Regions from separate parts of the Homo sapiens genome. Here regions 1, 2, 4 and 5 are each linked to region 3. Evidence: promoter capture Hi-C in 16 types of primary human blood cells and fetal thymus (Javierre and others, 2016). All regions are on one chromosome and are shown on one strand. Each heading gives the region's core, a stretch centred on a gene start or on the middle of the fragment in contact. The rest is flanking DNA. Distances are from core to core; before and after follow the strand shown.

Region 1 (5,363 bases), core at 1,492-3,991, 240 kb before region 3:
ATTTTATGTTATATATACTCTGGTATTATGTTATATTTACCATGTTTCTTTCCTTGGTAGGGAGCAAGTATTTAGGAAAGTTAGTTTTATACCTCTATAGTTTTATATTCTATAATATCCTAATTTCCTTTGTTTTTACTTAGATTTCTACTGTTTGGTTTGTCAGTTTAAAATAATATCCTTTATTATGTATTATCTACTTGACAATTTATGTATTCTGCTTTCTCCCTTTTCTCTTCTGCTCTCATTATTTCAGTTGTACTATTTCTACTTTGTCAGAATGTTTACCATTTACATATATGTTTTTTAGTTCTAGATAGGTTTAAATCTTTTTGTTGCTTGCCATCAGTCATCTTGCCAAAGTTTTCCTTTTCCCCTTTGTTCTATGAAACGTGTTCTTCAGTATAGCAGTTCTCAAACAATAATGAGCATACTCATCACCTGGACCTCTTGGGCAGGGCCTAGATTCCCACTCCTAAAAAAATCCCAAATGGTATAGATGCTGTGGGCCATGAACCCCACTTTGAGTGGCAAAAGATTTCTCAAGAAGAGTTCTCAAGTTCTTGAACATAAGTTCCATATTAGGTTCTATAACATGTATACTTGAAGGACAGCTTGGCTGGATTTTAAAATACTTTGGTTCAAAAGGTTCAAAGTTCTTGAAATTTCTTGAAAATGCCCCTCCACTGTTGTCTTGCATTGTTGCTGTCAAACTCTGATGTGAATCTGCTTTCCTTCCTTTAGCAAGTGACTTGGTCATTTTGTTTGGAGGACCAAGTGTTTAATATTAGTGTAATTATTTTATAGGCATATGTCTTAGAGTTGATTGGTTCAGATCACAGATACACATGGGCCCTTTCAAATGTGGTTTCAGGCTTTCTTTTGTTTCTGGAACATTTTCTTAAATTACAGGGTTTTTTTGTTTGTTTATGTGGGTTTTTTTTGAGACAGGATCTCACTCTGTTGCCCAGGCTGGAGTACAGTGATGCAGTCCAGCTCACTGCAACCTCCACCTTCAGGGCTGAAGCAGTCCTCCCATCTCAGCCTCCTGAGTAGCTGGGACTAACAGGCACACACCACCATGCTCAGCTGATTTTTGTATTTTTTGTAGAGATGGGGTTTTGCCATGTTGCCCAGGCTGGTAAGTTACAGTTTTTAATATTGTGTTCTGCTGTTTTTTTCTTCTGAGTCTCCAGCTATATGTTGGATCTTCTTTGCCTGTCTTCCTTGTCATTTTTTTCATTTTGACACATATTTTTCTTTTATTTTTGTCCTCTTAGTTTTTCAAGCTTTTCTTCAGTGTCCCTTATTATATTTTCATTTGGGTAGTTTCCCCCTTGCCATTTTGTAATTTATCACTATTTCTAAGATGATTTTGTTCTCTTCTTCCTTTTCTTTACTGAATTTAGCCACTTTCATTTCATATCTTCCATTTTGTTCATTTGTTAGATATTTTTGATCTGAGTTTTTGTACTTCTTATCTGAAGTTTTTTTTCATGTTCTTAAATGCTTATTTAAGGTTATTTAATTCAGGTTTGATTATTGAGTTATAACTTTCATCTGGTTATGTTTTGTTTGGTTTTTGTTTGCTTTCATGTTGTTGAGGAACAAAATCAAAAATGGAAATACTTTGATTCTCAATGTCTGTTTTATTTTCATAGTAACCTTGTACAGATGTTATCTGCTTTTTTTTTTCGTTTTTTTCATTTTGAAATTTTCCTAGACTAGCAATAGTAGCTCTTGTTGGAAAGAATAAGGAGTTTTTGGGTAGCTTACTGAGTTTTTTTAGTTTGAGAGCACTCTTTTCTGCTGGTATAGTAAAATGTTGTTTCTTTTAACGAGTATCTTCTTGGTAGTGAGAGGTGTGAGTATTGTTCTTGTGTCTTTAGGACTGTTAATTTCTACCTTTTGCTTTCTTCTTTCCGATAATCTTCAGCCTCCAGGAGATACCTGAGCCTTCCGTAAATCTTTCCTCCCCATCCTTCCCTCAAAATGGTGCCTTCCTAAAACTACCACATCTGATTCTGTGCATTTTCAAGCACTATCCTTTTGATTCTCTAGAAACTCTCTGATCTAGCAGTTCACAGACCTTTTCTTAGTGAAAATTTCTTTTTCTGGGGGTGATTTTATCTGTGTTCCAATATCGCTAGATCTCTATTTCCCTCTCTTTCATAGTGTCTGACTTGACTTGCCACTTAGGTGTGGGCTTTGGAGCTAGTCTTGCTGGATTTGGATGTTTATTTCCCTATTTTCATGTAACACGAAGTTCATGCCATTGCTTATCTCCTAGTTAATGTTGTAGGTATGAGGAATGGTTAGTTTGTCTTCTCTTCCTATTGATCTGTTTGTTTTTGGTTTTGAGTATATATGGAGAGATTTGGATTTAGACGGCTCCATTGTCCTATGAGAACCCAGAACTCTGTAATAATGTTATTATATCTAGAAAAAATTGAATTCATTTTGGTGTGTTCAGGCAATTTAAATATATTTATATATGAACTAAAGAGTACTTCATCTTCTGTTTAGTGTGCAGCATATTTTATTTTATATTATTTGAATTATCATACTTATTTTGATTTATACCTAGTTCATTACAAAATCTATTCTTGTTAACATAATGGTAAACCTCTAATATGTCATCTGTAAGGAGCATGCTGGATATGTTGTAATAGTTTAATTGGATAAGGGGCATTTTGAAATAGAATTAGTATAAATATACAAACAGCCATTGGACACAATGTGAAAATCTTTCCCAGAAATCAGTTTACACAGATGAGTCCATAAATCTATGATTTAAATCTTGTGTAACTTTGCCCCAAGCCACTAAATAGAAGCATGCTGTGTGTGTGTGTGTGTGTGTGTGTGTTTTACATCCATTGTATGTACCATATATATATATGTACCATTGTATGTACCATATGTGTGTGTGTATATATATGTATACACACACATATGTATGTGTGTATTTTATAAATATATACTGTTTTTCATTATTGTTGAGGTCAACCAGTAGACTAGAGATTATTTTAGACCCTAAGAGAACTTAAGGGACCTCTGCTGTTACTGATTAAAGTAGGGCTAAAATAAGAATATAGATGCTATATTCTATATTATTTATAGGCTATCTTAAGTAAATATTCAAAATATTTTAAGGAATTGCTTGTTAAGGTGTAGCATAGATACAGATACTGGTTATGAATGTTAGGCTGAATGAAGTGTCAAGAAGTGAACATATTCATAAGACATAGGACGTTTTACCAGAAGCCCCTTCATGCTCTTCCTAGTCACCACCAACCCAAAATAACCACTTTCCTGACATCAATTGCCATTTAGTTTTGCCTCTTTAAATTCTGTATATGTTATACTATACATTCTCTTGATATATTTTCAATCGTCTCAGGATGTTGAAATTGTTTCCCAACTCTGGTGCTCTTTTAGCAGTTGTTTCCCTGGTCAGTTAATCCTCTGTGTTGCCGTGTGGGCATGCATGCTGACGCTTCTCCGTGGCTGGCAGAGAGCCACAAGACTCCACAGAGGCCCTGTTTCTAGTGTTACAAAAATAATCATACATGTTGCATATCTAAATCCAGTGAGGAACTTGTCAAAATGATGGTTGATTAGAGAGATTAATAAAATATAAAGATATTTAAAGATTTGGTGGCTGCACAGGACAATTAACATGTTGCTAATTCTGAAAGTGAATCTAAAATGGGAAAGGTAATTTTACAGTCCATATGTTAGTCATGTCCCTGACTAAAGAAGTAAGTTGGCAGCCTTTTTAAGGTTTCATCATTTTCATCATTCAAGTGCTTTTATTTCTCTAAGTGTACTGCATTTAATGACTTTTTTACTTAATACTTTCTAAGTATATTATGTGAATATGCTAGAATATATTAAATGTTGTCATTTGAAGATAGAATAATGACTCTGTTGCAAAACAACTAAATAAATCCAAAGTGGAGCGATGTTGTTGGTACACTACAGTGGCAGCAGACCCTTGGATTTAGAAGGAATGATTTCCAGAAAATCTGAGGTTTGAAGTGACCAACTGTCATTAGATTTCTCATAAATTGAGGCATTTTGATATTGAAAACAGAAGGAGGAAAACTCACAATGGAGAGGAACAAATTTGAAAACTGGGCCACCGCTCTTTGAAAATGCATCAGCTCCCTTCACCACCACTTGCAAGCTTATTTTAGGAACTTAGAAAGAGGAAAGAAGAGAGACAAAACATCTTTCCCTGCCTAATAACTCTATCCCATTTACATTACTTCTTCCCACTAATTATGGTGAAAGTACTTTGTGGTGATGAGAAGGGAAGTTCACTGGCCTCTGACCATGGGGTTAACTGTGCCTCGTGGGGGTGCTCACTTAGCAGATACTTGGGTGCTCACACCTTGTGCTAAGGCTGAGCAGAAGCAGGAATGGTTGTTGGCACTGGAGCTTTATCTAGCATGAACACAAAGCACCAGATAGTCATGCAGATAGATGTAAAAGGATTGAGTTTAGAGTAGGGGAACATGACCTTGTCCGGAGTCTGAAAGGTGTTTTTAAGGAGAAGTATCCAGTAAAATGGAGCCTGAAGTGAGAGATGGGGATGAGGGACTGTGGAGGGAATGCTTTGGGCAGAGAGGATAGCCTGCCCAGGGACCATGGAGTCCCAGAGCTATGAAGATGCAGGAAAGAATGTGAGGTGAGGCTAGAGAGGACACAGAGGCCAGATGACCTGGCTGCACAGGCCACATTGAGGATACCTTTTTCTCACTTAAGAGCCCTGGGCAGTCATTGGTCGGTGGGGGGTAAGAGTATGGCTGTGGTGATGACCTCAACACATTTGCAGTTTGTAAAACCAAAACAACCCTTGTCTTGCTCAACTTGGAGGATGGTTCTCACTCATACCCAGCATGGAGAATGTTTAAGAGGGGTTGGAAGAGTCAGTGAGTTAGGTGGTAACTGCAGTGGTTCTAGGGAAGGATCCTGGTAGATTGGAACAGGACAGGCAGTGACTCTTCTGGAGAGGCATGTACTGGAAGCAGTATTCAGAGTTCTTGGTGCTGTGTTGGATACACTGTGTGTTAGGGGAGAGGAAATATCATGAGTGACTGTAGGTTTCTGGCTTGGGTACTGGAGGAGGGCCAGTTATTGAGATAAAGGATGCTGGAAGAGATCTGTGTTTTGGCAGAAGAGCCCAGATGTGTTCATTGTCCCGCTGAGTCTAAGGTACCTGTGAAACAGGCAAGAGGAGCCCAGTGGGCAGTTGGGTGGACTAGAAACCCAGTTCAGTGAATCATCTGCATCAGTAAATCCATGTTCCCTTTCCTTCCCCCTTTCTCACCTGCCCCAACTGTGCAACACATAATCAT
Region 2 (5,456 bases), core at 2,554-5,053, 170 kb before region 3:
TTAATTTCTATAGAACATTTAATGATATCTCCTTTTTTATTCCTGATATTGGTAATTTATGTCTTTCTTCTTTTATTCTTAATTAGTTTAGCTAGAGGTTTAGTTTACTGATCTTTTTAAAAAACGTTTGTTCTTATTGATTTTCTTCTATCGATTGATTTCTATTTTACTGATTTTTACACTTTTAATATTTTCTTCATTTTTTCCTGTTTTTTTTTTCTAGCCCCTTCTTAGTTCTATTATATGAAAGATTCTTAGATTAGATTCCTCAGCTTTTCTATTGAAGTTTTCATTTTGACAATCATATGGTAATTTCCAAGAACTCTTTCTGGCTTTCAATTGTTCCTTTTCTGTGAGTGTCTGCTCTTGTTGTATGAATACAGGATTTTCTTAGTTCTCCCTGAGGCTGCTGTCCTTTTTTTAAAAAAAACCCTCTCTCCTGTTCTCAGAATTATCTGTTTCATCTGGATTCATTTTCTTCTTTTTTGCCATGGGGTATATGTGCATAGCTGTGTGTCTGTCTGATTTTCTTCATGAAGACTTTTCTCAAGTGTTTGGTGAGTCTTGGCTATCTGTTCATATTGAGAATTAGCCAGTAGCATGGCTGGCTCAGGCCTTCATGATATGGGTGAGGTTTTCCAAGAGGCAAAGACTTTGCTTTATGATAGAAGACAAAGGGGAGAGGGGGAGGGTGCAGAATACACTGCCCATCCCCCAATGCCAGAATGTGGAAGGTGTTTTGAGCTCCCTTAGTCCTCCTACCTTCCACCCCAAGAAAGTTCACTTAATTTGTTTAGTAAAGATCTATTTTGTGTGTGCATGTGTGGCACATGTATGTATGCATCTGAGAGTTACTTAGCTGCAGCCATTTGCACATAGGATTATAGGGAGAGATGAACTTCCATATCACTCTTCCTACCATTATGAGGGCATTGTCCAGGTACAAAGCCTTTCCAAGGCTTTGCTGTACTGGTTGGCTTTTTCCATAGCCAAAGCCTGCCTCCATCTGGGTTCTAGGCTGTAATTTTCTACACTCAGTTTTATCATGCTATACTCTTTGATTTATTTTCTGATTTCCAGAAATTTACAGACTTTTCCTATGTGCTGATGGCCTTCTTCCCATTTCCCTCATTATTATGGATGCCTTTTTGTTTCTTTGCTGTTCTTTTGATGATCTCTCCAAATGGATATGAGAGATAAATGGAAATCTTCAACCTCCCATCTAAACCAATGCATAGCATTCTTTTTAACTTCTTTATATAGTAGTTTATAATTTTCCTGATTCCTAATCCCATGCTGCCATTTACTGGTTTGTGACCCTGAGTAACTTGTTTAACTTCTCTGTGCCTGTTTTTTAAAATAGAGATAACAGTAGTACCAACTATGTAGTTCCACCATGATGGTGGAAGTGTTAAAACTAACCCACCAGCCTGGAGCTCAGTCCCTCCTTCCATGGGCGAGCCCTCACTAACTCCTACCATCTGAGGCCCAAAAAGCACTTTCCCCCTTGAATGGTTGGAGGCCTGAGCAGAAGCTCCAGACAGGCACTGGCAGGAAGCACTCACTAGCTCTGGGCCAGTGGGAAGCACCTTCCTCAGGAGGGTCCCACTGAGAAACTGGCAGCTCCATCATGCCTCTTAGCCATGTCACCTCTTGGCCATGTTCTCCTCACTCCGCACTTGGACCTTCCTCTCCACAAGTCATTCTTCTACTGGCAGATATTTCTGTGAGACCTCTGAAACCTTGTTTCATTGCCAGCAAGCCCTCCCTCACCCTTAGCCTCTTCACAGAAGACTATCTGTGGCCCTCTCTCTGATAATACCACCTTGTTTGTTACTTACTGAATTGGATGATGCTCAATTTGGTTATCCTCCATTTACTAGGGAAGTGCATCAGGTAGAAATGGAATCTGAGCACTGACTGGTCCTTTTCCTTCAACAACACCGAATCCTGGAGCAAGTTGTGGCTACCGAAAGAAGAGAACAAAAGATAAAAACAACTTAGTGGCAGGAGGTGGGGTGGTGGTGGTTGGACAGAAAGTGAGTCAGGAAAAAAAAATTGAGAAGTGCCACCCTATGATAGTGACACATGCAGCTAGCTATTGCTCTTAGAGCCCACCTAATGGCATTAAACAGTGCTGCCTTTCTCTTCTCATATATTTATGTTCCACCTGGTTACACATAACTCAAGGGGCTCAGAGACTTTGTTTTACTGTTGTAGAGACATTGATTTGGAAGCTCGTGGCGTATAAGAAATAGGTTTAATCATCATCCTCAGCAAACTAACACAGGAACAGAAAACCAAACACCACATATTCTCACTCATAAGTGGGAGCTGAACAATGAGAACACATGGACACAGGGAGGGGAATATCACACACCCGGGCCTGTCCAGGGGTAGGGGGAAAGGGGAGGGAGAGCGTTAGGACAAATCCCTAATGTATGCAGAGCTTAAAACCTAGATCACGAGTTGATAGGTGCAGCAAACCACCATGGCACATGTATACCTATATAACAAACCTGCACGTTCAGCACATGTATCCCAGAACTTAAAGTAAAAAAGAGAAAAAAGAAGTCGGTTTAAGCCTAATGGGAGATTGAAAGCTCTCTGCATTTCTTGTCTATGGTGTCTTCATTTGATGTTAATAGGAATTTGTAATGCATAAGAGAATTCCTGTAGAAATATTTCCTATGTAGAAATATTTTCAGAATATTTTATTGTTATGGTAAGTAAAAGGAGGATGTGGAGGAATTTGATGGAGCAAATCAAATTATTTCAGCTTAAATTTAAAAACTTTGCAGGGCAAGGTGGTCTTATTGCTAGAAACATCCTTCCAAGAAGGAAAAAACAGGTATCCTGGATTCTTTGTGAAACTTCTTCTTAGAACAGATTTTTATAAAGTGTGTCTGTCTTTAAGGAGATTCATCTGTGGGGTGCTATAAGGATCTTATTGCACAGTGGTCTCCATTGCAGGGGGTCTCTTGACTAGGACTCCGGGGTCAGCATTTATAACAAGCCTTCAGGGTTTTAATAATTTTTACAAATGACAAAGATTATATATAGCACAGTGGGGATATATTGTCATCTCCCCTTTTATAGGTTAACAAGCTAGGAACAAAATGAGAGTTCTGACTCCTTTTCCAATATGTGGTTGTCTACTGTCTTTGTTGCCTGGAGCTCAGTGTCACTCAATGAAAGGGAGACAAAGAAACTTAAGTGATTATTCCAAGATCCCACACAAACTCCTATAGGAATAGGAACAGGGTAGGGGGTGGGGGATGGGTTGGGGGCCTTGCATCTTGGTTGATCAGACTACAAGCTCCTCAAGCCCCAGGTACACCACTGCAGAACTCTCCATGTTGCACTGAGCATTTCAAGTGGCAGCTCCTCAGAACACATTAGTTAATTTGATTTCCACCTGGTACTGATCTCCTCCTTGCAGTTCATTTTATTTTAGAAAGTAATTTGTAGTTTAGAGATGGCAAGCAAAAAGCTTGTAATGAATTAGGAGTCTATAGGAAACATACATGTATTCTAAAGTAAAGCAGGTTTGGCTCTGTGTTCCCACCCAAATCTCATCTTGAATTGTAATTCCCACATATTGAGGGAGGGACCCGTGATCCCCACATGTTGAGGGAGGGAGGTGATTGAATCATGGGGGTGGTTTCCCCCATACTGTTCTCATGATAGTGAGTGAGTTCTCATGAGATCTGGTGGTTTTTATAAGTGTTTCAATAGTTCCTCTCTTGCTCCCTTCTCTCTCCTGCTGCCTTCTGAAAAAGGTGCTTGCTTCCTCTTCACCTTCTGCCACGATTGTAAGTTTCCTGAGGCCTCCCCAGCCATGCAGAACTGTGAGTCAGTTAAACCTCTTTCCTTTGTAAATTACCCAGTCTCAGGGAAGTTCTTCATAGCAGTGTGAAAATGGACTAATACAAGCATGTTTCTGCAGCAGGTTATTAACTGTCAGGGTTAACTTTGATATGTGTATTTAGCAATCTGCTAAGAGGCATTTTGTGTGCCAAGTTATTAACCACAGTGTCAAGTTCAATACCAAAGGAGTCTTTTTTATCTAGTTTCCTCCCTGACTTTATTTCAAAGCATAATCAAAGCTTTATTCTTCATTAGATTTAGTATTAGCTAATTTAGTTTTTGGCAATTTTTATTCTGGTTTCTGTTATATACCATTCATAAATTGAAATGATTGTGCCAAAACATGTTAAGTTTATAGAATGGTAATGTACTGTTGGGTGCATTGTCATGGCACATTATAGATGGCTCTGGAGCAAGATTTACAAGTAACAAATACAAGAAAGTTGTAAGTATGAAAAATCCGTACTTACTGTGTTTCACTCATAAGAACACTGCTATCCACTTTTCCCATGACCACTACCGCCTCAATTACACAAAATTAAAATGATCCTACTCTTTGCTTCATGTCGCAGACACCTTTGTAATTGTATTAATTCCTGCATCTGTGACCCTCCCTTTTGTAGGCACCAATGGTATATTTGATATATGTCCTTCCCTTCCACCTTTCACTTATTTAAATTATGGTGTTTGTGTGTGTTGTAATTAATGAGCATGGCTTTGGGCTCTGAATCTCTAATTCTTTTTCACTCAGTGTTTATGATATCTGTCTATGTGGCTATGTATGAATTTGGTTCATTGCTTCTGACTGCTACGTAGATATCCATCTTCTGAATACACCAAAGTTTTCTTATCCATTTTCCTACCGATGGACAACTCTTTGCTTCTAAAGCCAGAGCTACATAAGGATGCACAGCGTTGTGTTTGCTTCTTTGTGGATGTGTGCAAGAGCTTACCTCAGAGCACAGGTGAAGAAAATGCCCAGGTTTAGCAGATTTTTAGCACCTTTAAGGCAAAACTCAGTGCCATCAGTATAATATAGGACTTCTGGAGCTTTAAAATATATACATTTTGTATAAAAGGTGACACTCAAAAATGCAGCTGAGAGTATCATTAATTATACACTGCAGTGTCTGAAGATTCTATTTTTGTAGCGTCCTTTTCCTTTCCTCCTAATGACTGTGCAGGTGTTGGTGACCGCCGTACCTGCTCACCTGCTGAGCCCAGGTTCCCAGGGTGGGAGCCAGCCCAAGTTATTTGAGGAGTAGGCAAATGTAGCATGTCAATTTCTATTTAAAGAAATTATTTCATCACCTAGTAGGTGCTTAAATGTTTTTTAATGTTACTCTTTTTGCTTTTCTTTATCCCATCGTAAATTAGAGTTAACGCAAGTCTTTGCTCCTGTTGTTTATTGAACTTGCTGTAGAATAGCAGTGCTGGAATATGTTACTCTAACAAGTAAATACTGCGTCATGTACCACAGGATATTATAATTTATTTTTATATATCTTTATATATTCATCTTTGTGTCAGAATCTGTTGGAAAAAAAAAAGGTTTGTAACCAATGTTTGTTTGACTGATGGTGTTT
Region 3 (5,184 bases), core at 919-3,418:
TTGGGCAGTGTAAAGAGCTCTTAGGATTAGACAAGCTGCTACAGGGAAGAAATCATGTCTTATTTATACCAGTACTTAGAACCATGGCTGCTCAGTATCTCCAGAAATAAATATTTTTCTATTTGGTTTCACTTTCTGTATGAGGGAAGTACTCACAGTGAAGTTCAGATGAACAGTATTTCCTGTGACCAGTAAAAATATCACGAAAGCCCTTCAATTTTAATAAGGACATTTAAAAGCCTTTCTTTTAGGATTATGTGATTAAATCTAAACCATAAAGACCCAACCTATACTTCTGGTCTAGAAAAATAAAATTAGTACAACTTCTGAGTTCTAGCATGTTTTAGACTAATGGATCTTACTGCAGTAAAACAGAAAAAAATACTCAGAATTATTAAAAAATACGGTGAGAGTAATTTTTGTGCACAAAATGAACAATTAAAAACTGATTATACAAATTTAAAAAAAAATTGAAAGGTGGCACTGAAAGTTTCCTGCCTGAAAAGCCTTCAGGATGAGAGTATTATAAAAAGTTAGCACTGTGCACCTGACTTTCTACACTGCTTCAATATGTGACCTTGGAAATGTCATGTAATTTCTCTCATTTCTAGTTCTGTAAAATGGGAATGTCCACCTGTTCTCCTCTCAAGGACAATTACACAGATAATCAGATTAAAAATTTGGTATTTGGTGTTCTTTAAAAAAAGAAACTTGTCTAATTAGTATGCTTTAATCATCACTTGTACAGTACATTCCTCTTCAAGAATCCAATTCCAAGAGAAATATTTAAGCAGACGTTGAGGACAGATTTCCTTAAGGGAATTATTTTATAAATCTGGAAAGCAATGTAACGAGATTATAAATTAACAAACTGATTACATAAGCCTTGACAACCCGGGCTTTAAAGTACACTGCTGTATATATTCTGATAAGTTAAAGACTGGTTTGGGACATAGTGCTCCAATCCCATACAAGGAGCCCAAACTCAGGCATTTCATGTTTGATAGGAACTTGGTGGAGATTCAACAGGATGTCCAACACTTGCAAGCCATGCTTCACCTTAAAACCTGACAAAATGTTTAAGGCATTAAGTCAACTTTACCACGGTTCCTAAGACTTTAAGAATGCACATAATTAAAGGGAAGGGGGGTGGAAAGTAACATGACAGTTTGAAAGGTCCCATATCCTCAGACCTCTATAGATTTAGGAACTCCACTGCTAAATTCTCCCCAAAGCCTGAAACTCCCTATGAAACTACTGGACTGTATGCGATCCAACAGTTACAAATAGCACAGCTCCAAGAACCCCGAAGATAAAAGGCTGCCACTTTCCTGCAACCCAAGTCCAAGTAAAAGGCAGGAAGGTCCCTGTAAAATGGACCAGAAAGAAATCAACAGGCGATGACTATGGAAAAGAACGTAGATTTCCCAGTCTCCCAGTCTGCAAAAATTCTAGCTCTCCCTCGGGAATGGCACTGCTCCTCTTTCCTTACCCCTTTGCCCTTTCTCTACAGACAACATCCCCACTCTATTGTAAAGCAGTTTGACCACGGAACCCTTTTGCTGAGGCCGGATTTCTACAGTCTTCTGAAAGGGGAAAACGCATTCAAAGAACACACACCCTACCAAGCGCCCAGGGCGCGGGGCCCCGCGGGCGCCGCACTCGGCCCGCTCCGGGGCGGGGCGCGGGGATGCGGGCGCCTTCCGAGGTGCCGCAATCCCGCCGCGGCCGCAAGGGCAGGGCCTCCAGGCGACCGCGGCCGCCGCCGCAGTGACGGCTCCCGCCGGGCCCCGCCGCCGCCCCGCCGCCAGGCCGCGCCGCGGGGTCCGGGCCACCGCAGCCCGGGCCCCGCGTCCTCCCGGGCCGCGCGCTGCGGCCGGCGCCGAGAGCGCAACTTACTTTCCGCCTGCGGCGAGCGCCCCGGCCCGGGCGCCCAGCCCGGCAACAGCGGAGGCTACTGAGGCGGCGGAGGCCGGCCCCGCACCCCTGCCTACGGCCGCCGCGCCCCGCCGCGCTCCGCGCTCGCCCCTACCTCAGCCGGCAGGCGAGCGTCCGTCCGCAGCGGCCGCGGCGCCGACAACTCCCTCCCGGCCGCCGAAACCCCGCACCCAGCGCTAATCATAATACCGAGCGGGCTGCCGGCCGCGGGGAGGGGGTGCCGGGTAGCTGCGCCTGCGCGGGCTGCGCGTCACTGTGACGTCAGCGCTGGGGCGGGGCCGCGGGAAGGGCAGGGCGGGGCGGCGCGCACCTGCGGCCGGCGCGCGGGCTGCTGGAGGGCATCCTGGCGGCTTTCTGACCCCGGCGAGTCGGGGCTGAGGCGGCTGGCGGGACAAAGCGGGCAAGGCGCCCAAGGAGGATGGAGGACGGGGGAGGAGGAAGCACCAGGGACACGGAACAATGGCCGGGAAAAAGTAGCGCGAGCTGTCAGGGGAAATCGGAGGGAAGGGACCGCGTCTGTACAGGACTGCGTCTTGGCGGCAGGGGGCAGGGAGCCGCACGCGCTTTACTCTTTGGTTCCCGCCCAGGTTTAAACAAGGATAAAAAAATTGTAAAAATACATATACATACACACATGCACATATGTATATACATATATATACATAATATGATTTTTTTCTCTGTAGTTTCTTCTCCCTGGGACTCTAATTTGAAAAAATTCGGTTGATTTTGTTGTTATTTAAGCAAAATTGGAAAAGCCCAACATCTGAATGCAGTGCTGGCCTTAAAGGTCAGCGGGAGACACAGGCCCTGCTAGGCAGCCTCTGGCAACAGCATAGAAAAGTAAACGGTCGTGGGGACACATCAAAGCACGTGAAGTCAGAGATTCAAAACACGCCGGGCATTAACCATAGCCCTTGATGGTTCAGTGGTATGGTCGCCAGGCCAGGTTGCTCTGGAAGGGAGCTTAGGGATGGCCGCAGAGGGTGGGAGGGGACTCCCGACTCCCACCCCTGGAAGCATGGCATGCAATAGAGACCAGCTCTTCAGGGTTCCTGGAAGGGAACACCAACAAACCAGACGCCAGATTTCTTCAACCTGCTTTTCCCCTTCTGTTCCCACGTTGTGTCCACCCTTCCCCAAGAAAGGACCCCTAGCAAGGAAGGACACAAGCCAGAAGAGCTGCGGAGATGCTGCAGGCTTGGTTGAATTGACTGGACTGCGAAGAGAAATCTAGATGGTTTTAGCAAATCTCTGTTGACCTGCAAATGTCAAAAGCCTTTTAGCTTCTATGCATCAACTTTGCATGTCTGAAGATGATTGGGAAGCAGGAGTGGATTGTTGGGAGGTGCAAACAGTTTGATTCTTAGGGTAATAACATAGGGTTTTCTGATCAAGGGGACTCCCAGTTACCCTAATACCCTTGCATCAGGTGGTGGGAGAGCACCAGGGAAAGCCTCAGATTAGGCCTCTGCGCCTTAGGGTCCCACCTGGGATCACTCTGACCTGAAAAGACCATAAAAGAGTCATCTCATTTTGACATGGAAATCGTAACTGTAGCAGCATATTAAGCAAGAGCTCCTAACTTGGATTTGTAGAATTTGTCCTTTTGTTGCTAGAAATCAGGAAGACCATGCACTTTTCTCCTCAGGGAGATATCACTATTCAGGGAACTCTGTAGCCAACTAAAGGGAGAAAATACCACTGTAATGGTCTCCCAAGGGATTTCCAGTGGTCGAAGGCCTCCACCCCTGGGTCTGTAGTCCCTGAGTTATATCAGTAACTACAGAACAATGACGATAATATATAAGCTCTTGAAAAATAAAGTATTTATATTGCTGCTGTTTAACTAGGTTTTGAATAAATTTTCTAAGGAAAACAAGGCATAAAAGAGCAAAACAAATGAAAAAGGGCAAAATAATAAATTGATTTAAATGAAGTTGGCTGCAATACTCTTCTAGAGAAGGACGCAGTACTGGCCACATGGTAAATCATTTATTCATCCCCAGTATTTCTTGGGTAGCTGAAGTGCTGCTGGCAAGAATATGACCCAGTTTTGGTTCCACACCATAAATGTGGTGACATGATTTGATTATGCTTCGGCAATATTTTAAGATATTCAAGTACAAATTAATAGTATTACTTAAGTTGGAATTTAAGCAAATGTGCTTATAGTTAATGAAGAAACTCCTTTTCCACTCTGCCCTGGGGCTTTCTCCAACACACTGCTTTTTTAATGTTGGGTCTTTTTATGGACCTGTAAGAAGCTTTAATTAGATGTACAGCATTCTACAAAACGACAAGATGAAGCATGCTTGCTTGTATTACAGTCTCTGTGATTCAGATCTCAAAAATAACATAATGCCACCAGTTTAAGGAAGATGTTGTTTATTGGAAGGAAACCAGGGAGGTGCCACAAATTAGATCAAAATGTGAAAATTGAGCAGACTGATGAAAGAATTGTCATTTTCATCTTTGGAACCCCAAAAGCAGCATATGTAACAAGGTTATCTTCTCTGGATATTGTTAGTTTTTGTAATTTATTTCAAATTTTAAAATAAATGTATTTAAAACAACAGACATTGAATATTCATACACAGTTCAATTTTGAGTTGTGACATTTTATTTAACAACATTCCCTTTTACATATTTAACTAGTTATTTCATACATTTATACTTGTGCATTTCTAGATCCTGGCTTCACCCCAGTAGGATCAAAATAATACTTAATTGGAATGACCTAAAGAGTTCCTCAAAGACTCCTTCACCACCCTATGGGCATCAGTTAACATCTTCTACTCTTTTATCTCAGATGTCAGTTAAGGTCCTGTGTGTGTGTGTGTGTGTGTGTGTGTGTGTGTGTGTGTGTGAGAGAGAGATATTTCTGATAGTTGCAAACAAGAATTGGAAATGCCAGTCCTTAACTCTGCTTGTTTGCAACCAGTGAACTAGAAGATAGGACAGACATTGACATTTAACCCCATCTCTACTGCTAAGAGCAAGATGGCTTTGGGAAAGTTGCATAACCTTCTATATGTTTCTTCTGTAAAATGAGAAAGACAGTGATGATAATAATACCTTTCTTATAAGTTTGATGTAAAGCAGTGGTTCTCAAAGTGTGCTCCCTGGACTAGCAGCATCAGCTTCTCCTGGGAACTGGATTGAAATGCAGATTTTCCAGTTCCACCTCAGACCTACTGAATCAGAAACTCTGATTTCTCTGTTTTAAGACTTGCAGGTGATTCT
Region 4 (5,522 bases), core at 2,471-4,970, 190 kb after region 3:
ACCTGGGGCAGCCTCCAGTCTTGCAGCAGGGAGTCTTCCCGCACCAAGTGGGTCAGAGGCAGGACCCTGCAGCCTGGCTGTGTGTTTCCTCTCTGTGGCTGGTGTTGGATGCATGGTGAAGCTGTAGGGGACAGTCCCTGAGTGAGTTCAGGGGAGGAGGTGTTAGGAAGAGGCAGCCCAGGCAAGCCCTGTCGCCTCTTTAGGGTCTCATCACTGGACAGCAGGGCTGGGTGAGGGGGCAGTGCTGGGTGAGGGTGCAGGCTGGGTGGGATCTGGGAAGCTTGTGTATGAGAAGAAATGCCTTCGTTTAGCTCCTGGGAAATGTTCTGGGGCTGCATAATTCTCTGAGCCTTATCTTTGCTTTGTGAGGGAGAGCAGCCCTTGAGCTGTGGATAAGGGAGGAGAAGGAGCCCTGGACTGAGAGCCAACATTCTGCCATTTTAATCCTGGCTGCCTGTGAGAGCTCACACTGCCTCTCCAGACCTCTTTTATGAAATAAAGAGTTGGAGGAAATCATTTCTAAGGGTTCTTGTAGCTCTAAAGGGCAGTGGTTTTGTAATTCTAAATTGATGGCCTAACCCTCTCAGCACAGTACCAGGGCACATGGGATAAATTATCACACTAGTATGTTACTTAGACTCTCCTTAGGGTGAGAGAATGGCCACAGCTCCCTAAGCCACCTGTCACAGCTGGGTACCCTCTGCCTGGCTGGGTGGGGAGGAATTACAGCAAGAAGCCTTGGGTTGCTAAGTTACAGTCCAGGGCCTGTGGTTCTACATTTCCAGGGCCACCACACCTGCTCTGCCCTTGACTAATAAAAACTCACTGCTCTACAGTCTACTCTGCTTATCTGCCATTGAGTGTTCCTCCAAGTCTGATGACAGATGAGCACGGTACTAAGAACAAGACCTTAGTGAGAGGCAGGTTCAAATCCTGGTGGCCCTTCTTGAGCTTTAAGACCTTAAGCAAGGTACTTAACTCCACTAAAACTTGGTTTTCTCATGTTAAAAGAAAATGGGGATAATATTGGTACTGCATTGGAGGGTGAGGCTTAAATGAAATAGGTCAGGAAAAAGGCTTAAGACAGCGCCTCTCGCATAGTAGGTGCTCAGTAAAGTAAGATGGTGAGACCATTCATCTTTATCCCCTACCCAGAGGCCAACATCCTTTTTTTCTTAGTTAACCTGGACAAGTCCTTTTGTTTTCTCTGGCTTCCCATGTCTGCACTGGTACATACTCCAGCACCTCTAAGAGAATCAGATCTTTCACTCTGCCAGTGGTGACTGCCATTGGTACAAGCTTATGCTACAAATTTATCTGTTTTCTCCATTCTGAAAAGGCTAAGAGAAGGCCCCTTCTTTGCTGTGTAGTTGCTCCTCAGCCCTGAGCTAAGCCTTAGGAAGGGACTGGGGACCTGGTCTGCTGTATTGCCACACCCAGTGATGAAACACACCCCGGGGTCCTTTGACAGTGGAGGTTTGTGGCAGGAATCATGGCACATCCTGGAGTGGCATCTGGAGTTGCCACAGTTGTGCTGGGTCCCAGAGCTTCCAAGAGAGTCACACAGTAGCCATTGTAAGGAACTGGAGATGCTGTCCAAATTTGCTCTGTTCAGGGGCTTCTTTCTCGGGGGACCTACCTCCTCTCTGCTGGCCTGCAGGGATGGCCATCTCCCTATGTCCTCTACTGGTGGCTGCTTTAGACCCAGACTCCATCCTTAGTCCATTTAGCTGTGGCCAAGAGACCTGGACTCGTTTCTTGCCACTCCCACACCACAAATGGTGCACTTTGTGTGGGAAGGAATGGGTTGGGGCAACTTGTCTCAAAAGGGAGCTTAGAGTCTGGCGGACTTCTCAGATTGTCCCAGAGCTTAGGCTTATGCATCATCTTAGCAAAAGGTAGGAACAGAATTTATTTAGCCTTTACTGATACTTATGGGGAGGGTTATTCTCAATTGAATTAGTTGTTTAACCTGGGCTAGATAGAAATGCCTTGCTGAGTATCGCAAAATTGTGAAATGTTAGAAGAACCTCAGAGCAGTTCCCCTCAGTATTGTGCACACGCAAGAATCACCTGGAAGCTTTATTAAGACACAAGTTCCTGGGTCCTCATCTCAGAGAGATTCTGGTTCTGCAGGTCTGAAGTGGGGCCCAGGATTCTGCATTTCTCAGATCCCAGGTGATACTGCTACAACAGGTCCACGGATCCACTGAGTCCTGCTTTGGAAGACACCATGGCCAGCCCTATCCCCGCTGTGGAGTAGTCCACATGGGTTGTTTTTGTTTTTTGCTAGACCACTTCCAGGCAGGGGCTCACTGCCCTACAAAGTAGCTGATTCCTCCATGCTCAAACAGCTCTAGTCTTTAGGAAAGTCTTCCTCCAACTGACCATGCTGAGCTCCACCTCCCCATGACTTCTTTTTGCAGTTCTTACTCTAGGTCCCTGAGCAGCTGGCACAGCTGTGCTGGGCAGGACAGAATGGGAATCATATGTGCCCATAGTCCACACTTGTGCCTAGGGCTTGGGTTGCACGTGTCACCATCATGCATGTGTGTCCAGTCAGGTAGAAGGGGTTGCATCCACTCCTCAGGAGCAGCCTCACTCTTGTGCAGCAACTCAGGTATTTGAAGACACCATGGGTGCAGGGGCTTCTTTTCTCCAGTAAAGTGGCCCTACTCCTTCTAGCATCCTACACAGTATAGGGGTTCTCAGTCCTTCCTCATCCTGGCTGCCCCAAGGTGAGTGTCCCAGAAAGACTCACATAGGGTGGGGTTGTATTAATGACTAATTGTACAGACTCTAATTCCTCACGAAAATGCATAACCTGAACCTAATCATGAGAAAACATCAGACATTGAGGAATATACTAGAAAATAGCTGGCCCTGACTCTTAAAAATTGTCAAGATCATAAGTTGAAGATAGACTGAGAAGCTACCCCAGATCGGAAGGGACTAGAGAGCGGTGATAACTGGATACCATGCTTCATCCTGGACTGGATTCTGGACCAGAAAATAGAAACCATATGTTAATAATAATATCATTGTCATTATAGTATCAATATTCATTTCGTTAATTTTTGTGGTGTGAGAGAATGTTTTCATTCTTAGAAAATACATGCTAAAGTATTGAGTGCTAAAGGGGCCTGATTTCTTCAACTTATTTACAAATGATTCAGAAAAGAGAGAGAATTTGTATACAGTTGCCCTCCTCAGGGAGACTTGTTCCGGGATCCCCCACAGATACCAGAATCCAAGGATGCTCAAGTGCCTGTTATAAAATGGTGTCATTATTTGCATATAACCTACACAATCCTCCTGTATACTTTAAGTCATCTCTAAATTCTTTATAATACCTAATACAATGTAAATGCTATGTAAATAGTTGTTATACTATATTGTTTTTAAATTGATACTTTTTTTGTATTTTTAAGTTTTTTTTGAATATTTTTGATCCACAGTTGGTTGAAGTCACATATGCAGAACCTGCAGATATAGAGGGCTGACTGCATATAGAGAGAATGATTAAACAAAGATGTCAAATTAGCAGTTGGTGAATCTGGGTAAGAGTGTAGGAGAGTTCTTTGTCCTATACATGCAACTTTTTTTGTAAATTTAAAATTATTTCCAGATAAAAAGAAGGAGATCGCAGACCCTGTAGCCAGCCTACCTGGGTTAGTCTTATCATTGCTTCCTCTGTAAACTTGGCTTTCTAACCTTTCTGAGCTTTGATTTTTACCATCTATAAAATAAAGATTATCATTGCAAAGTGAAGAATCTGGCACCTAGTGATTGGCCAGTAGATCTTAGCTATGATAATATCATTATTATTAGGAAAGGGAGGAGTTGAGGGTGACATGGTGGTAATGAGACCAAAGGAAAACTCAGCCTAATTCTGTCACCTCCTTCTGCTTGCTGATGTGGGATCTCAGGGTCCCTGGGTATCTGGCAGGGACCTGGCTGCCATAAAGCGTCACCCTGCAGAAGGCTTTGCAAGTAGTCACCTGAGCCCATAGGGCTCTACTGTTGAAACCCAGGTCTCCTGGCAGCTTTATCTCCTGCCTTCCCTGGCACTTCTGTGCCTGCCCCACAGCCTGGGCTCCCCGACCTTTACCTGTCTGGGTATGCAGTGCCCACTGAACTGCACATGGCTTTGGGCCTGGCCATCACTGCCCATGGCTTGGAGGCCTCATGGTTTGCTGGACATTTGTGAGAACTAGACAGTGATGCTTGCTGCAGACAGATTTGTAGCAGTCATGAGTAATTGGGACATGTAGACACATAACAGAGATGCTCATCTTATCCTCCATCACCACCAAAACACCTCCAAAAACTTGCTCAAAACTCACCCACCCTCCAGCCAGCTTCCCTGGATGATCTCTTGTTGTGCACACTTCCTCGTGTTTCTTTGTGAATGTTTTATGCTTCCTATACTGGGTGTTTTTGGCTCTCTTGATCAGTTCAACCCTCTCAAATTGGGCCTGAGGGTCCATCTGGATTTGTGTACACACTGGGGTCTGAGCATTCCCTGTAAGAATTGTTTTCATTTGATTTTGTAGTTCCACCTAGAAAACCTGGTGTAGGCGTGTTCTCCATTACCTTTGTGAGCCACACAACAGAGGTTCCCACCGTTCTGTTCCCTGTTTCATCCCCGTTTATGACCACACTGGTACACAGTGATGCCAGAGAGGACCAATACAGGCACATGTCACTTCCAGGTGACCCATTTGTGCTAAGCAAAAGCCAGATGACACGGCAGGCTGTGTGGCAAGCAAAGGTTTCTGCGTTATTTGGAGGCTGAAAACCGGTGAGAGGGTTGCATATGAGCTGGTGGAAGGCCGAACGTCCTGCCCCACACTCAAGCCTTGGTTTATCCTCAGCAAAGACTGACATCACCCTTCTCACCAAAGTAGTACAGACTTGAATTCTGTTGGAGTTTTTCCTGCTTTGAAGGGGTTCCTTTTCTATTGATAAGGCAATATAGTCACAGTCATCAGCTATTGATGGTGGATTAATGTCTCCAGCTTTGACTTTGCTTTGCTCTTTATTCTAAAGCAAGAAGATACTACCCATGTCAAAGTTTTAATCTAAGAAAGTGAGCCCTTAACTAAATGTTAAATATGCCTTGATAATTAAATGTGTTAAGTTTTACAAGAACCACTCAGACTGCCAAGATTTTGCCAAAGGATAAATACCTTGGTCAGAAAACCTGATCTATAAATGCCGAATTTATCAATAGCATTAGGTTAATATTTAATTTAGGAGCAAATGTAAGCATTATGTTATTAATACCAGTTCCATATACTACTTCAGATAACCAAAAAAAAAGGAGGGGGAAAGAGATCATTCTGAGGATAAGCTTGAGTTAGTGAAACATGTTTACTCCTTACTAATTTACAACATGTAAGACAACAAATCAATACAGGACTGAAAGCTTCCACAATCTAGCACTAGTACTTCAGGCTGCATTTAGGACAAAAACACTTTTCAGTGACAAAATAAGATTTCTATAATTTTCAATTGGA
Region 5 (4,889 bases), core at 1,502-4,001, 150 kb before region 3:
CTTTGTCATGTCATGTAGGGCTCTGGCAACTTAAGCCCACACAGACTCTGAAATACATGGAAGATTTATTTTTATCTACTAATTTGTGTACTTCTTGTCTGATATTTCCACTGAAGAGATTGTCTTGTATAAAATTATATCTCAGTACTCTAATGGAATGAAATAACAGTACAGCATAGCCTTTTCTGAATTATTCATGTATTCTTTGGAGATTATATCCAGGTTTTTATTAATTCAGTTAGTTCAGAATTTCAACATAGGGTATCATCTGGTCCATGCTGTATTATCTACTTGTTTTCCTACTCTAGACCCTTAATCAGTATCTTCCAGTGTCATCTTTGGTCATGGCAGTCACATTTACATGAAGGCTGTCTGTCCCTGGTCTATTCTTTGTCTCTTGTTAATACCAGCCACTGCTTAGCCTGTCCTGGGGTTCTGCTGGTTTTCAAGTCTTCTGATTAAATTATTGCTTGTTCTGGCATCATGCTGATTTCCTTCACTATTTCATGCTTCTCCCAGGAGATATCTGCTTGTTATTTATCCCTCATTTCTCCTTTTGGAAATATCACAGTAAGAAATTCATTTAATTTTTTTCAACTGTCCTTTTTCTGTCAATAATTCAATGCAACATTTCTTAAAGGCTGTTCCATCTCTCTCATTGATTTTCTTAATGCCTTTTAATTATTTCTTTTAAAATTCACAACTTTTAATATTTAGTAACTCATGCTGTCACCACAGAGGCAGCTTTATCCTTTGATCACTTAGATTTCTGTGGGTGTTGATTCTGGATCACAAGATGATCTGGATTCGGAGAAGTATCAGTAGGTTGAGCCTATACATCTGAACAGCGGGATTACCAAGGGAAGCAATACCATTGGCTTAATTATACATCTCATATCATTATGTTATAGAGGACTTCTTTATGATGCTTGTGTGAGAAGGAAAAATAATAGCCAGGTTTTAAGTTTTCCATATTATAATGTCTGTGTACTTACCATATATGGAGTCAGCAGCATAAAGTTACAATCATTGAATTAATCTTTATTTATTATCACATCATAAAAGAAAATGCACCAAATGCTATGGGATTAGAGGATTCATGACACCTTATTTTTAAGATACATGTACGTTTCATGTAACTCAAACTGAAGTGCAGCACAGGGACATTGGGCAGAGAGTGGAGTGACAACAAATATTGTATACTAAGATGCGTTTCTAGAAAAGAGTTTGTGGAAGACTTCAGAATAAGCCATTTTTCTATAAAACATTGAGGGTACCCTTACGGTATCAGTTTACAGGAATACCTGGTTTTAAAAAGAATAAAGTTGGCTGGGTGTGGTCGCTCAACACCTGTAATCCCGGCACTTTGGGAGGCCAAGGTGGGTGGATCACCTGAGGTCAGGAGTTTGAGACCAGTCTGACCAACATGGTGAAACCCCCGTCTCTACTAAAAAATACAAAAAAAATTAGTTAGGTGTGATGGTGCACTCGGGAGGCTGAGGCAGGAGAATCACTTGAAACTGGGAGGCAGAGGTTACAGTGAGCCAAGATCGTGCCACTGCACTCCTCTAGCCTGGGCAACAGAATGAAACTCGGTCTCAAAAAAAAAAAAAAAAAAAAAAAAAAAAAAGAATTAAGCAAAGTCAGTAATTACTGAATGTACCACAACAGGGTGGACTCACTCAGTACAACTCATGGGCCTGCTTGGTCTTTGATACTTCACAGGCCAATACTTAGAAATTACCCAAGATTAATATAAATAATCCTAGATTGCTTAGATATCAATTTATTTCCTTGCATATATGGTCTGATGTATCACATCAACATGTACTCTTTCTTGTTTTCAGCACGCACTCCTGGCTTTAAAGTTTATACTTGCATTTGCCATACCTGATAAGCCACGGCATATCCAGATGAAACTAGCCAGACTGGAATTTGAGTCTTTGGAGGCACTCAAGCAGCAGGTGAGAGCAGCTGTCCTGAAAATGTATGTATTGCTTTAGCAAATGACAGGAAAAATAATTCAGAAGAATCAGTCTCAGCATTTTTTTCAGCCTTGAAGTTACCAGTTTAAATGAATACAGAGGACTCCAGTTCAGGATGACATAACAAAACCAAAATCCTAACAATATGAGCAACAAATAGGTTTAAATAACTAAACTAAAGAAACAAAAATATTCAGGCAATGTTAAATAAAGAATAGAGCTAGCATTCAGCAAAAGAACAAGACAGACATCTAAGAATCAACCTGGGGCAGCTCCCCACAGCTTCCAGTTTTGCCATCTACTGAAACATTAAGTGAGGAGAAGTGAATGAATAAAATCCTGAATAATAGCTTTCAGAGAGCGAGACAGAATGAGATCAGGTGTGTAGAAGCAGCAAAATTGCCCTGAAAGGAGAAACTGTGCCTCAGTGACTTCCACATTCTACCAGAGACTACAAAAAAAAAAAAAAAAAGCCATGCTGGAGTTGACCATTTTGGTGATTTTCTGCTTGTAGGAGAGTGGGAGTAGACAGAAGATCCCTAGACACCTGGAGTATCTCTCACTTGTTATCTTTAGTGCTGCATAGGAATTTAAGAAATGAGAGAATCAGTAAGGCATTGCCATCTGAGGGGACAAGCTCTGGGCAGAACCTCCTGGACACATACTCCTTCTTTGGCCTCCAAACCACTATGCATAGAAATATTTCTTCTTACATTTGGGGAGTGGGGAGAAAAAAAGAACGTGAAGAGGACCCACCTAAGATGACCCTTTGATCAAAGCCTGAGGGCTCCAAGGGTAGTGCGCCGGACAGGAGAACCCCACATCAAACCAATACTTGCCCTGATGAGGCAGGGTGACTCCAGAAGAGGACTTGTGATAAGAATGTGGAAAAGAGGATGAACCCAGGCCCACTAGCCATAGCTGTGCTCATGTTTGCCACACAGTAGGTGACAAGACTAAGTTACCTGCATTCCTAGAGGTTGGGCAAGTTCACTTTTGGCATGTGGGCTAGCCAGTGTGTCTATATGGTAAACCGGAACCCAGCATCATGCCCAATAATGAAACTCCAGAGCATTCCCAGCAATGGCAGAAAATCCATCATCATCACTGACAGCTAGCATTCTTCTAGAGGTACTAACCAAAGCAGTTGTATAAGAGGAAGAGATAAGTTCAAGTAGAAGAGGCAAGATTATCATTACTTGAAAATCAGAGGATTAGGCTGGGTGCAGTGGCTCACACCTGTAATCCCAGCACTTTGGGAGGCTGAGGTGGGTAGATCCCTTGAGCCCAGGAGTTTAAGACCAACCTGGGCAACGTGGTGAAATCCCGTCTCTACAAAAAATACAAAAATTAGCCAGGCATGGTGGTGCACGCTTGTAGTAACAGCTACTTGGGAGGCTGAGCTGGGAGAATTGCTTGAGCCTAGAAGGTCAAGGCTGTAATGAGCCATGATCATGCCACTGCACTCCCGCCTGGGTAACAGAGTGAGACCTTGTCTCAAAAAAAAAAAAAGAAAAGAAAATTAGAGGATTATATAGCTAAAAATAAATTATTAAAAATAAAAAAATTTGGTAAGGAAGCAAGTTACAAAGTTTATCTAAAATCGTGTTTCTTTTCACAAGAAATAATCAGTTTGAAAATATTTTTGATGAAAAATTCACATTTACAGAAGAAACCAAAATGTAAAAACTTAGGTGGTAATTTATGGAAACAATATAGATAACTTATAGAACAATTTTTTTTAAACTTTACTGGGATCAAAAGATTCAATCTTGTAAATATCCAATACCAATTCAAATATATCAAAATAAACATCTGAGAATAGCAAGGAAACTTCTGATAAAGAAGAAAAATGGGGACTCTCACTCTTGTCAGATATTAAAATGTATTCTGAATAGTACAATAATTATAATTAAATACATTTTAAATTAGGGAAGAAATGGAAAAATCAGTGGAATAGAGAGCATTGAGTCCATAAATGGGCCCAAATAAAACTGGGGATTTCATTTATGGTAAAAGTGATATTTTATGTCAATGGAAAAAAGAAGGATTATTTGTTACACAGTTTGATGGCAAACAGCTGTTTGGGAAAATTATTATACTTTATTTTAACTCATTCCTTATGAACCTCCCCACCACCACAAAATTCAAGGTTGACAGATTTAAATGTAAAAAATGTAAACCATAAGAAGTCTATTAAAAGTCTGGGTGTATCTTTTAGTGGGAAATGCCTTCCTAATCAAGACACAAAACCCAAAAATCATTAAAAAAAAAAAGATAAAGTAAAATACATGAAAAATGAAAACTTCTGTATGACAAAAAATAAGCAAACTCAAAAGATAAATTGGACAAACTGGAAAAATATTTTCATATATAACAAAGTCAATATCTTTAATTCAAAAAATAATTTCCACAAATCTATAAAAAATGACAGTCCAGTAATGAAAGGAAAGCATATGAAGAGATGCTCAACCTCATTCAAAATGAAAGAAATATAAATTTAAACACCAGTGAAATACCACATTTCGCATGTTCTATTGGATTATGTCATGATAGCCTGTCCTCACTGGATTTGGGAAATGGACATTCTTTTATATATAACTGACAGAAGTGTAAATTGGTTCAGTCTTCCTCGAATTGCAGTTGAATTTAATTTCAATTACTCTCCAACACCAAACAAACCTTACTAGGGTAATGGTTGTATCTGAAAAGAGTACCAAAATTTAGTCATTGAAACATTTTTATTAGCAAAAATCTGGAGATAACTAAATTCCTCAATAGGAGAATGGTTAAGTAAATTATTGTATATCTATACAATAAAATTCCAGTAACCTGCTTTTTTAAAAAAGATCTGTCTATGCTTATGCATGCACATACACACTGCCTACATTTTTGCAGCTATTG

What was found. Contacts are between HindIII fragments. The CHiCAGO score rates a contact against its expected background, and 5 or more counts as called.
Region 1: a contact is called between a fragment that was not itself captured here and the fragment with the promoter of SNRK in region 3, in 1 of 17 cell types (neutrophils). The highest score is 6.1, in neutrophils.
Region 2: a contact is called between a fragment that was not itself captured here and the fragment with the promoter of SNRK in region 3, in 1 of 17 cell types (total CD8 T cells). The highest score is 6.3, in total CD8 T cells.
Region 4: a fragment that was not itself captured here is called in contact with the fragment with the promoter of SNRK in region 3 in 1 of 17 cell types (fetal thymus); the score reaches 5.4 in fetal thymus.
Region 5: a fragment that was not itself captured here is called in contact with the fragment with the promoter of SNRK in region 3 in 3 of 17 cell types (neutrophils, naive CD8 T cells and total CD4 T cells); the score reaches 6.2 in neutrophils.

Annotation. Positions count from the first base shown.
Region 1 is chr3:43,524,540-43,529,902 of GRCh38, reverse strand. All of the region lies in intron 11 of ANO10 (anoctamin 10), which reads left to right. Among named protein-coding and RNA genes, the nearest start is that of ANO10, 95 kb to the left of the region's middle. The HindIII fragment of the contact is 2,900 bases long and covers 1,292-4,191 here.
Region 2 is chr3:43,455,758-43,461,213 of GRCh38, reverse strand. The region is part of intron 11 of ANO10 (anoctamin 10); the gene reads left to right. Among named protein-coding and RNA genes, the nearest start is that of SNRK-AS1, 110 kb to the right of the region's middle. RefSeq lists an enhancer at 4,932-5,456. The HindIII fragment of the contact is 616 bases long and covers 3,496-4,111 here.
Region 3 is chr3:43,283,524-43,288,707 of GRCh38, reverse strand. It overlaps SNRK (SNF related kinase), which reads right to left and starts at 2,168. Exons shown (of 7, transcript NM_017719.5): 1 at 2,033-2,168. RefSeq lists silencers at 1,634-1,683, 1,924-2,323 and an enhancer at 1,928-2,428. The HindIII fragment of the contact is 7,817 bases long and covers 1-4,207 here.
Region 4 is chr3:43,098,160-43,103,681 of GRCh38, reverse strand. All of the region lies in intron 1 of POMGNT2 (protein O-linked mannose N-acetylglucosaminyltransferase 2 (beta 1,4-)), which reads left to right. Among named protein-coding and RNA genes, the nearest start is that of POMGNT2, 5.2 kb to the left of the region's middle. RefSeq lists an enhancer at 5,205-5,522. The HindIII fragment of the contact is 3,276 bases long and covers 2,083-5,358 here.
Region 5 is chr3:43,429,686-43,434,574 of GRCh38, reverse strand. It overlaps ANO10 (anoctamin 10), which reads left to right. Exons shown (of 13, transcript NM_018075.5): 12 at 1,848-1,964. Among named protein-coding and RNA genes, the nearest start is that of SNRK-AS1, 80 kb to the right of the region's middle. The HindIII fragment of the contact is 8,533 bases long and covers 1-4,889 here.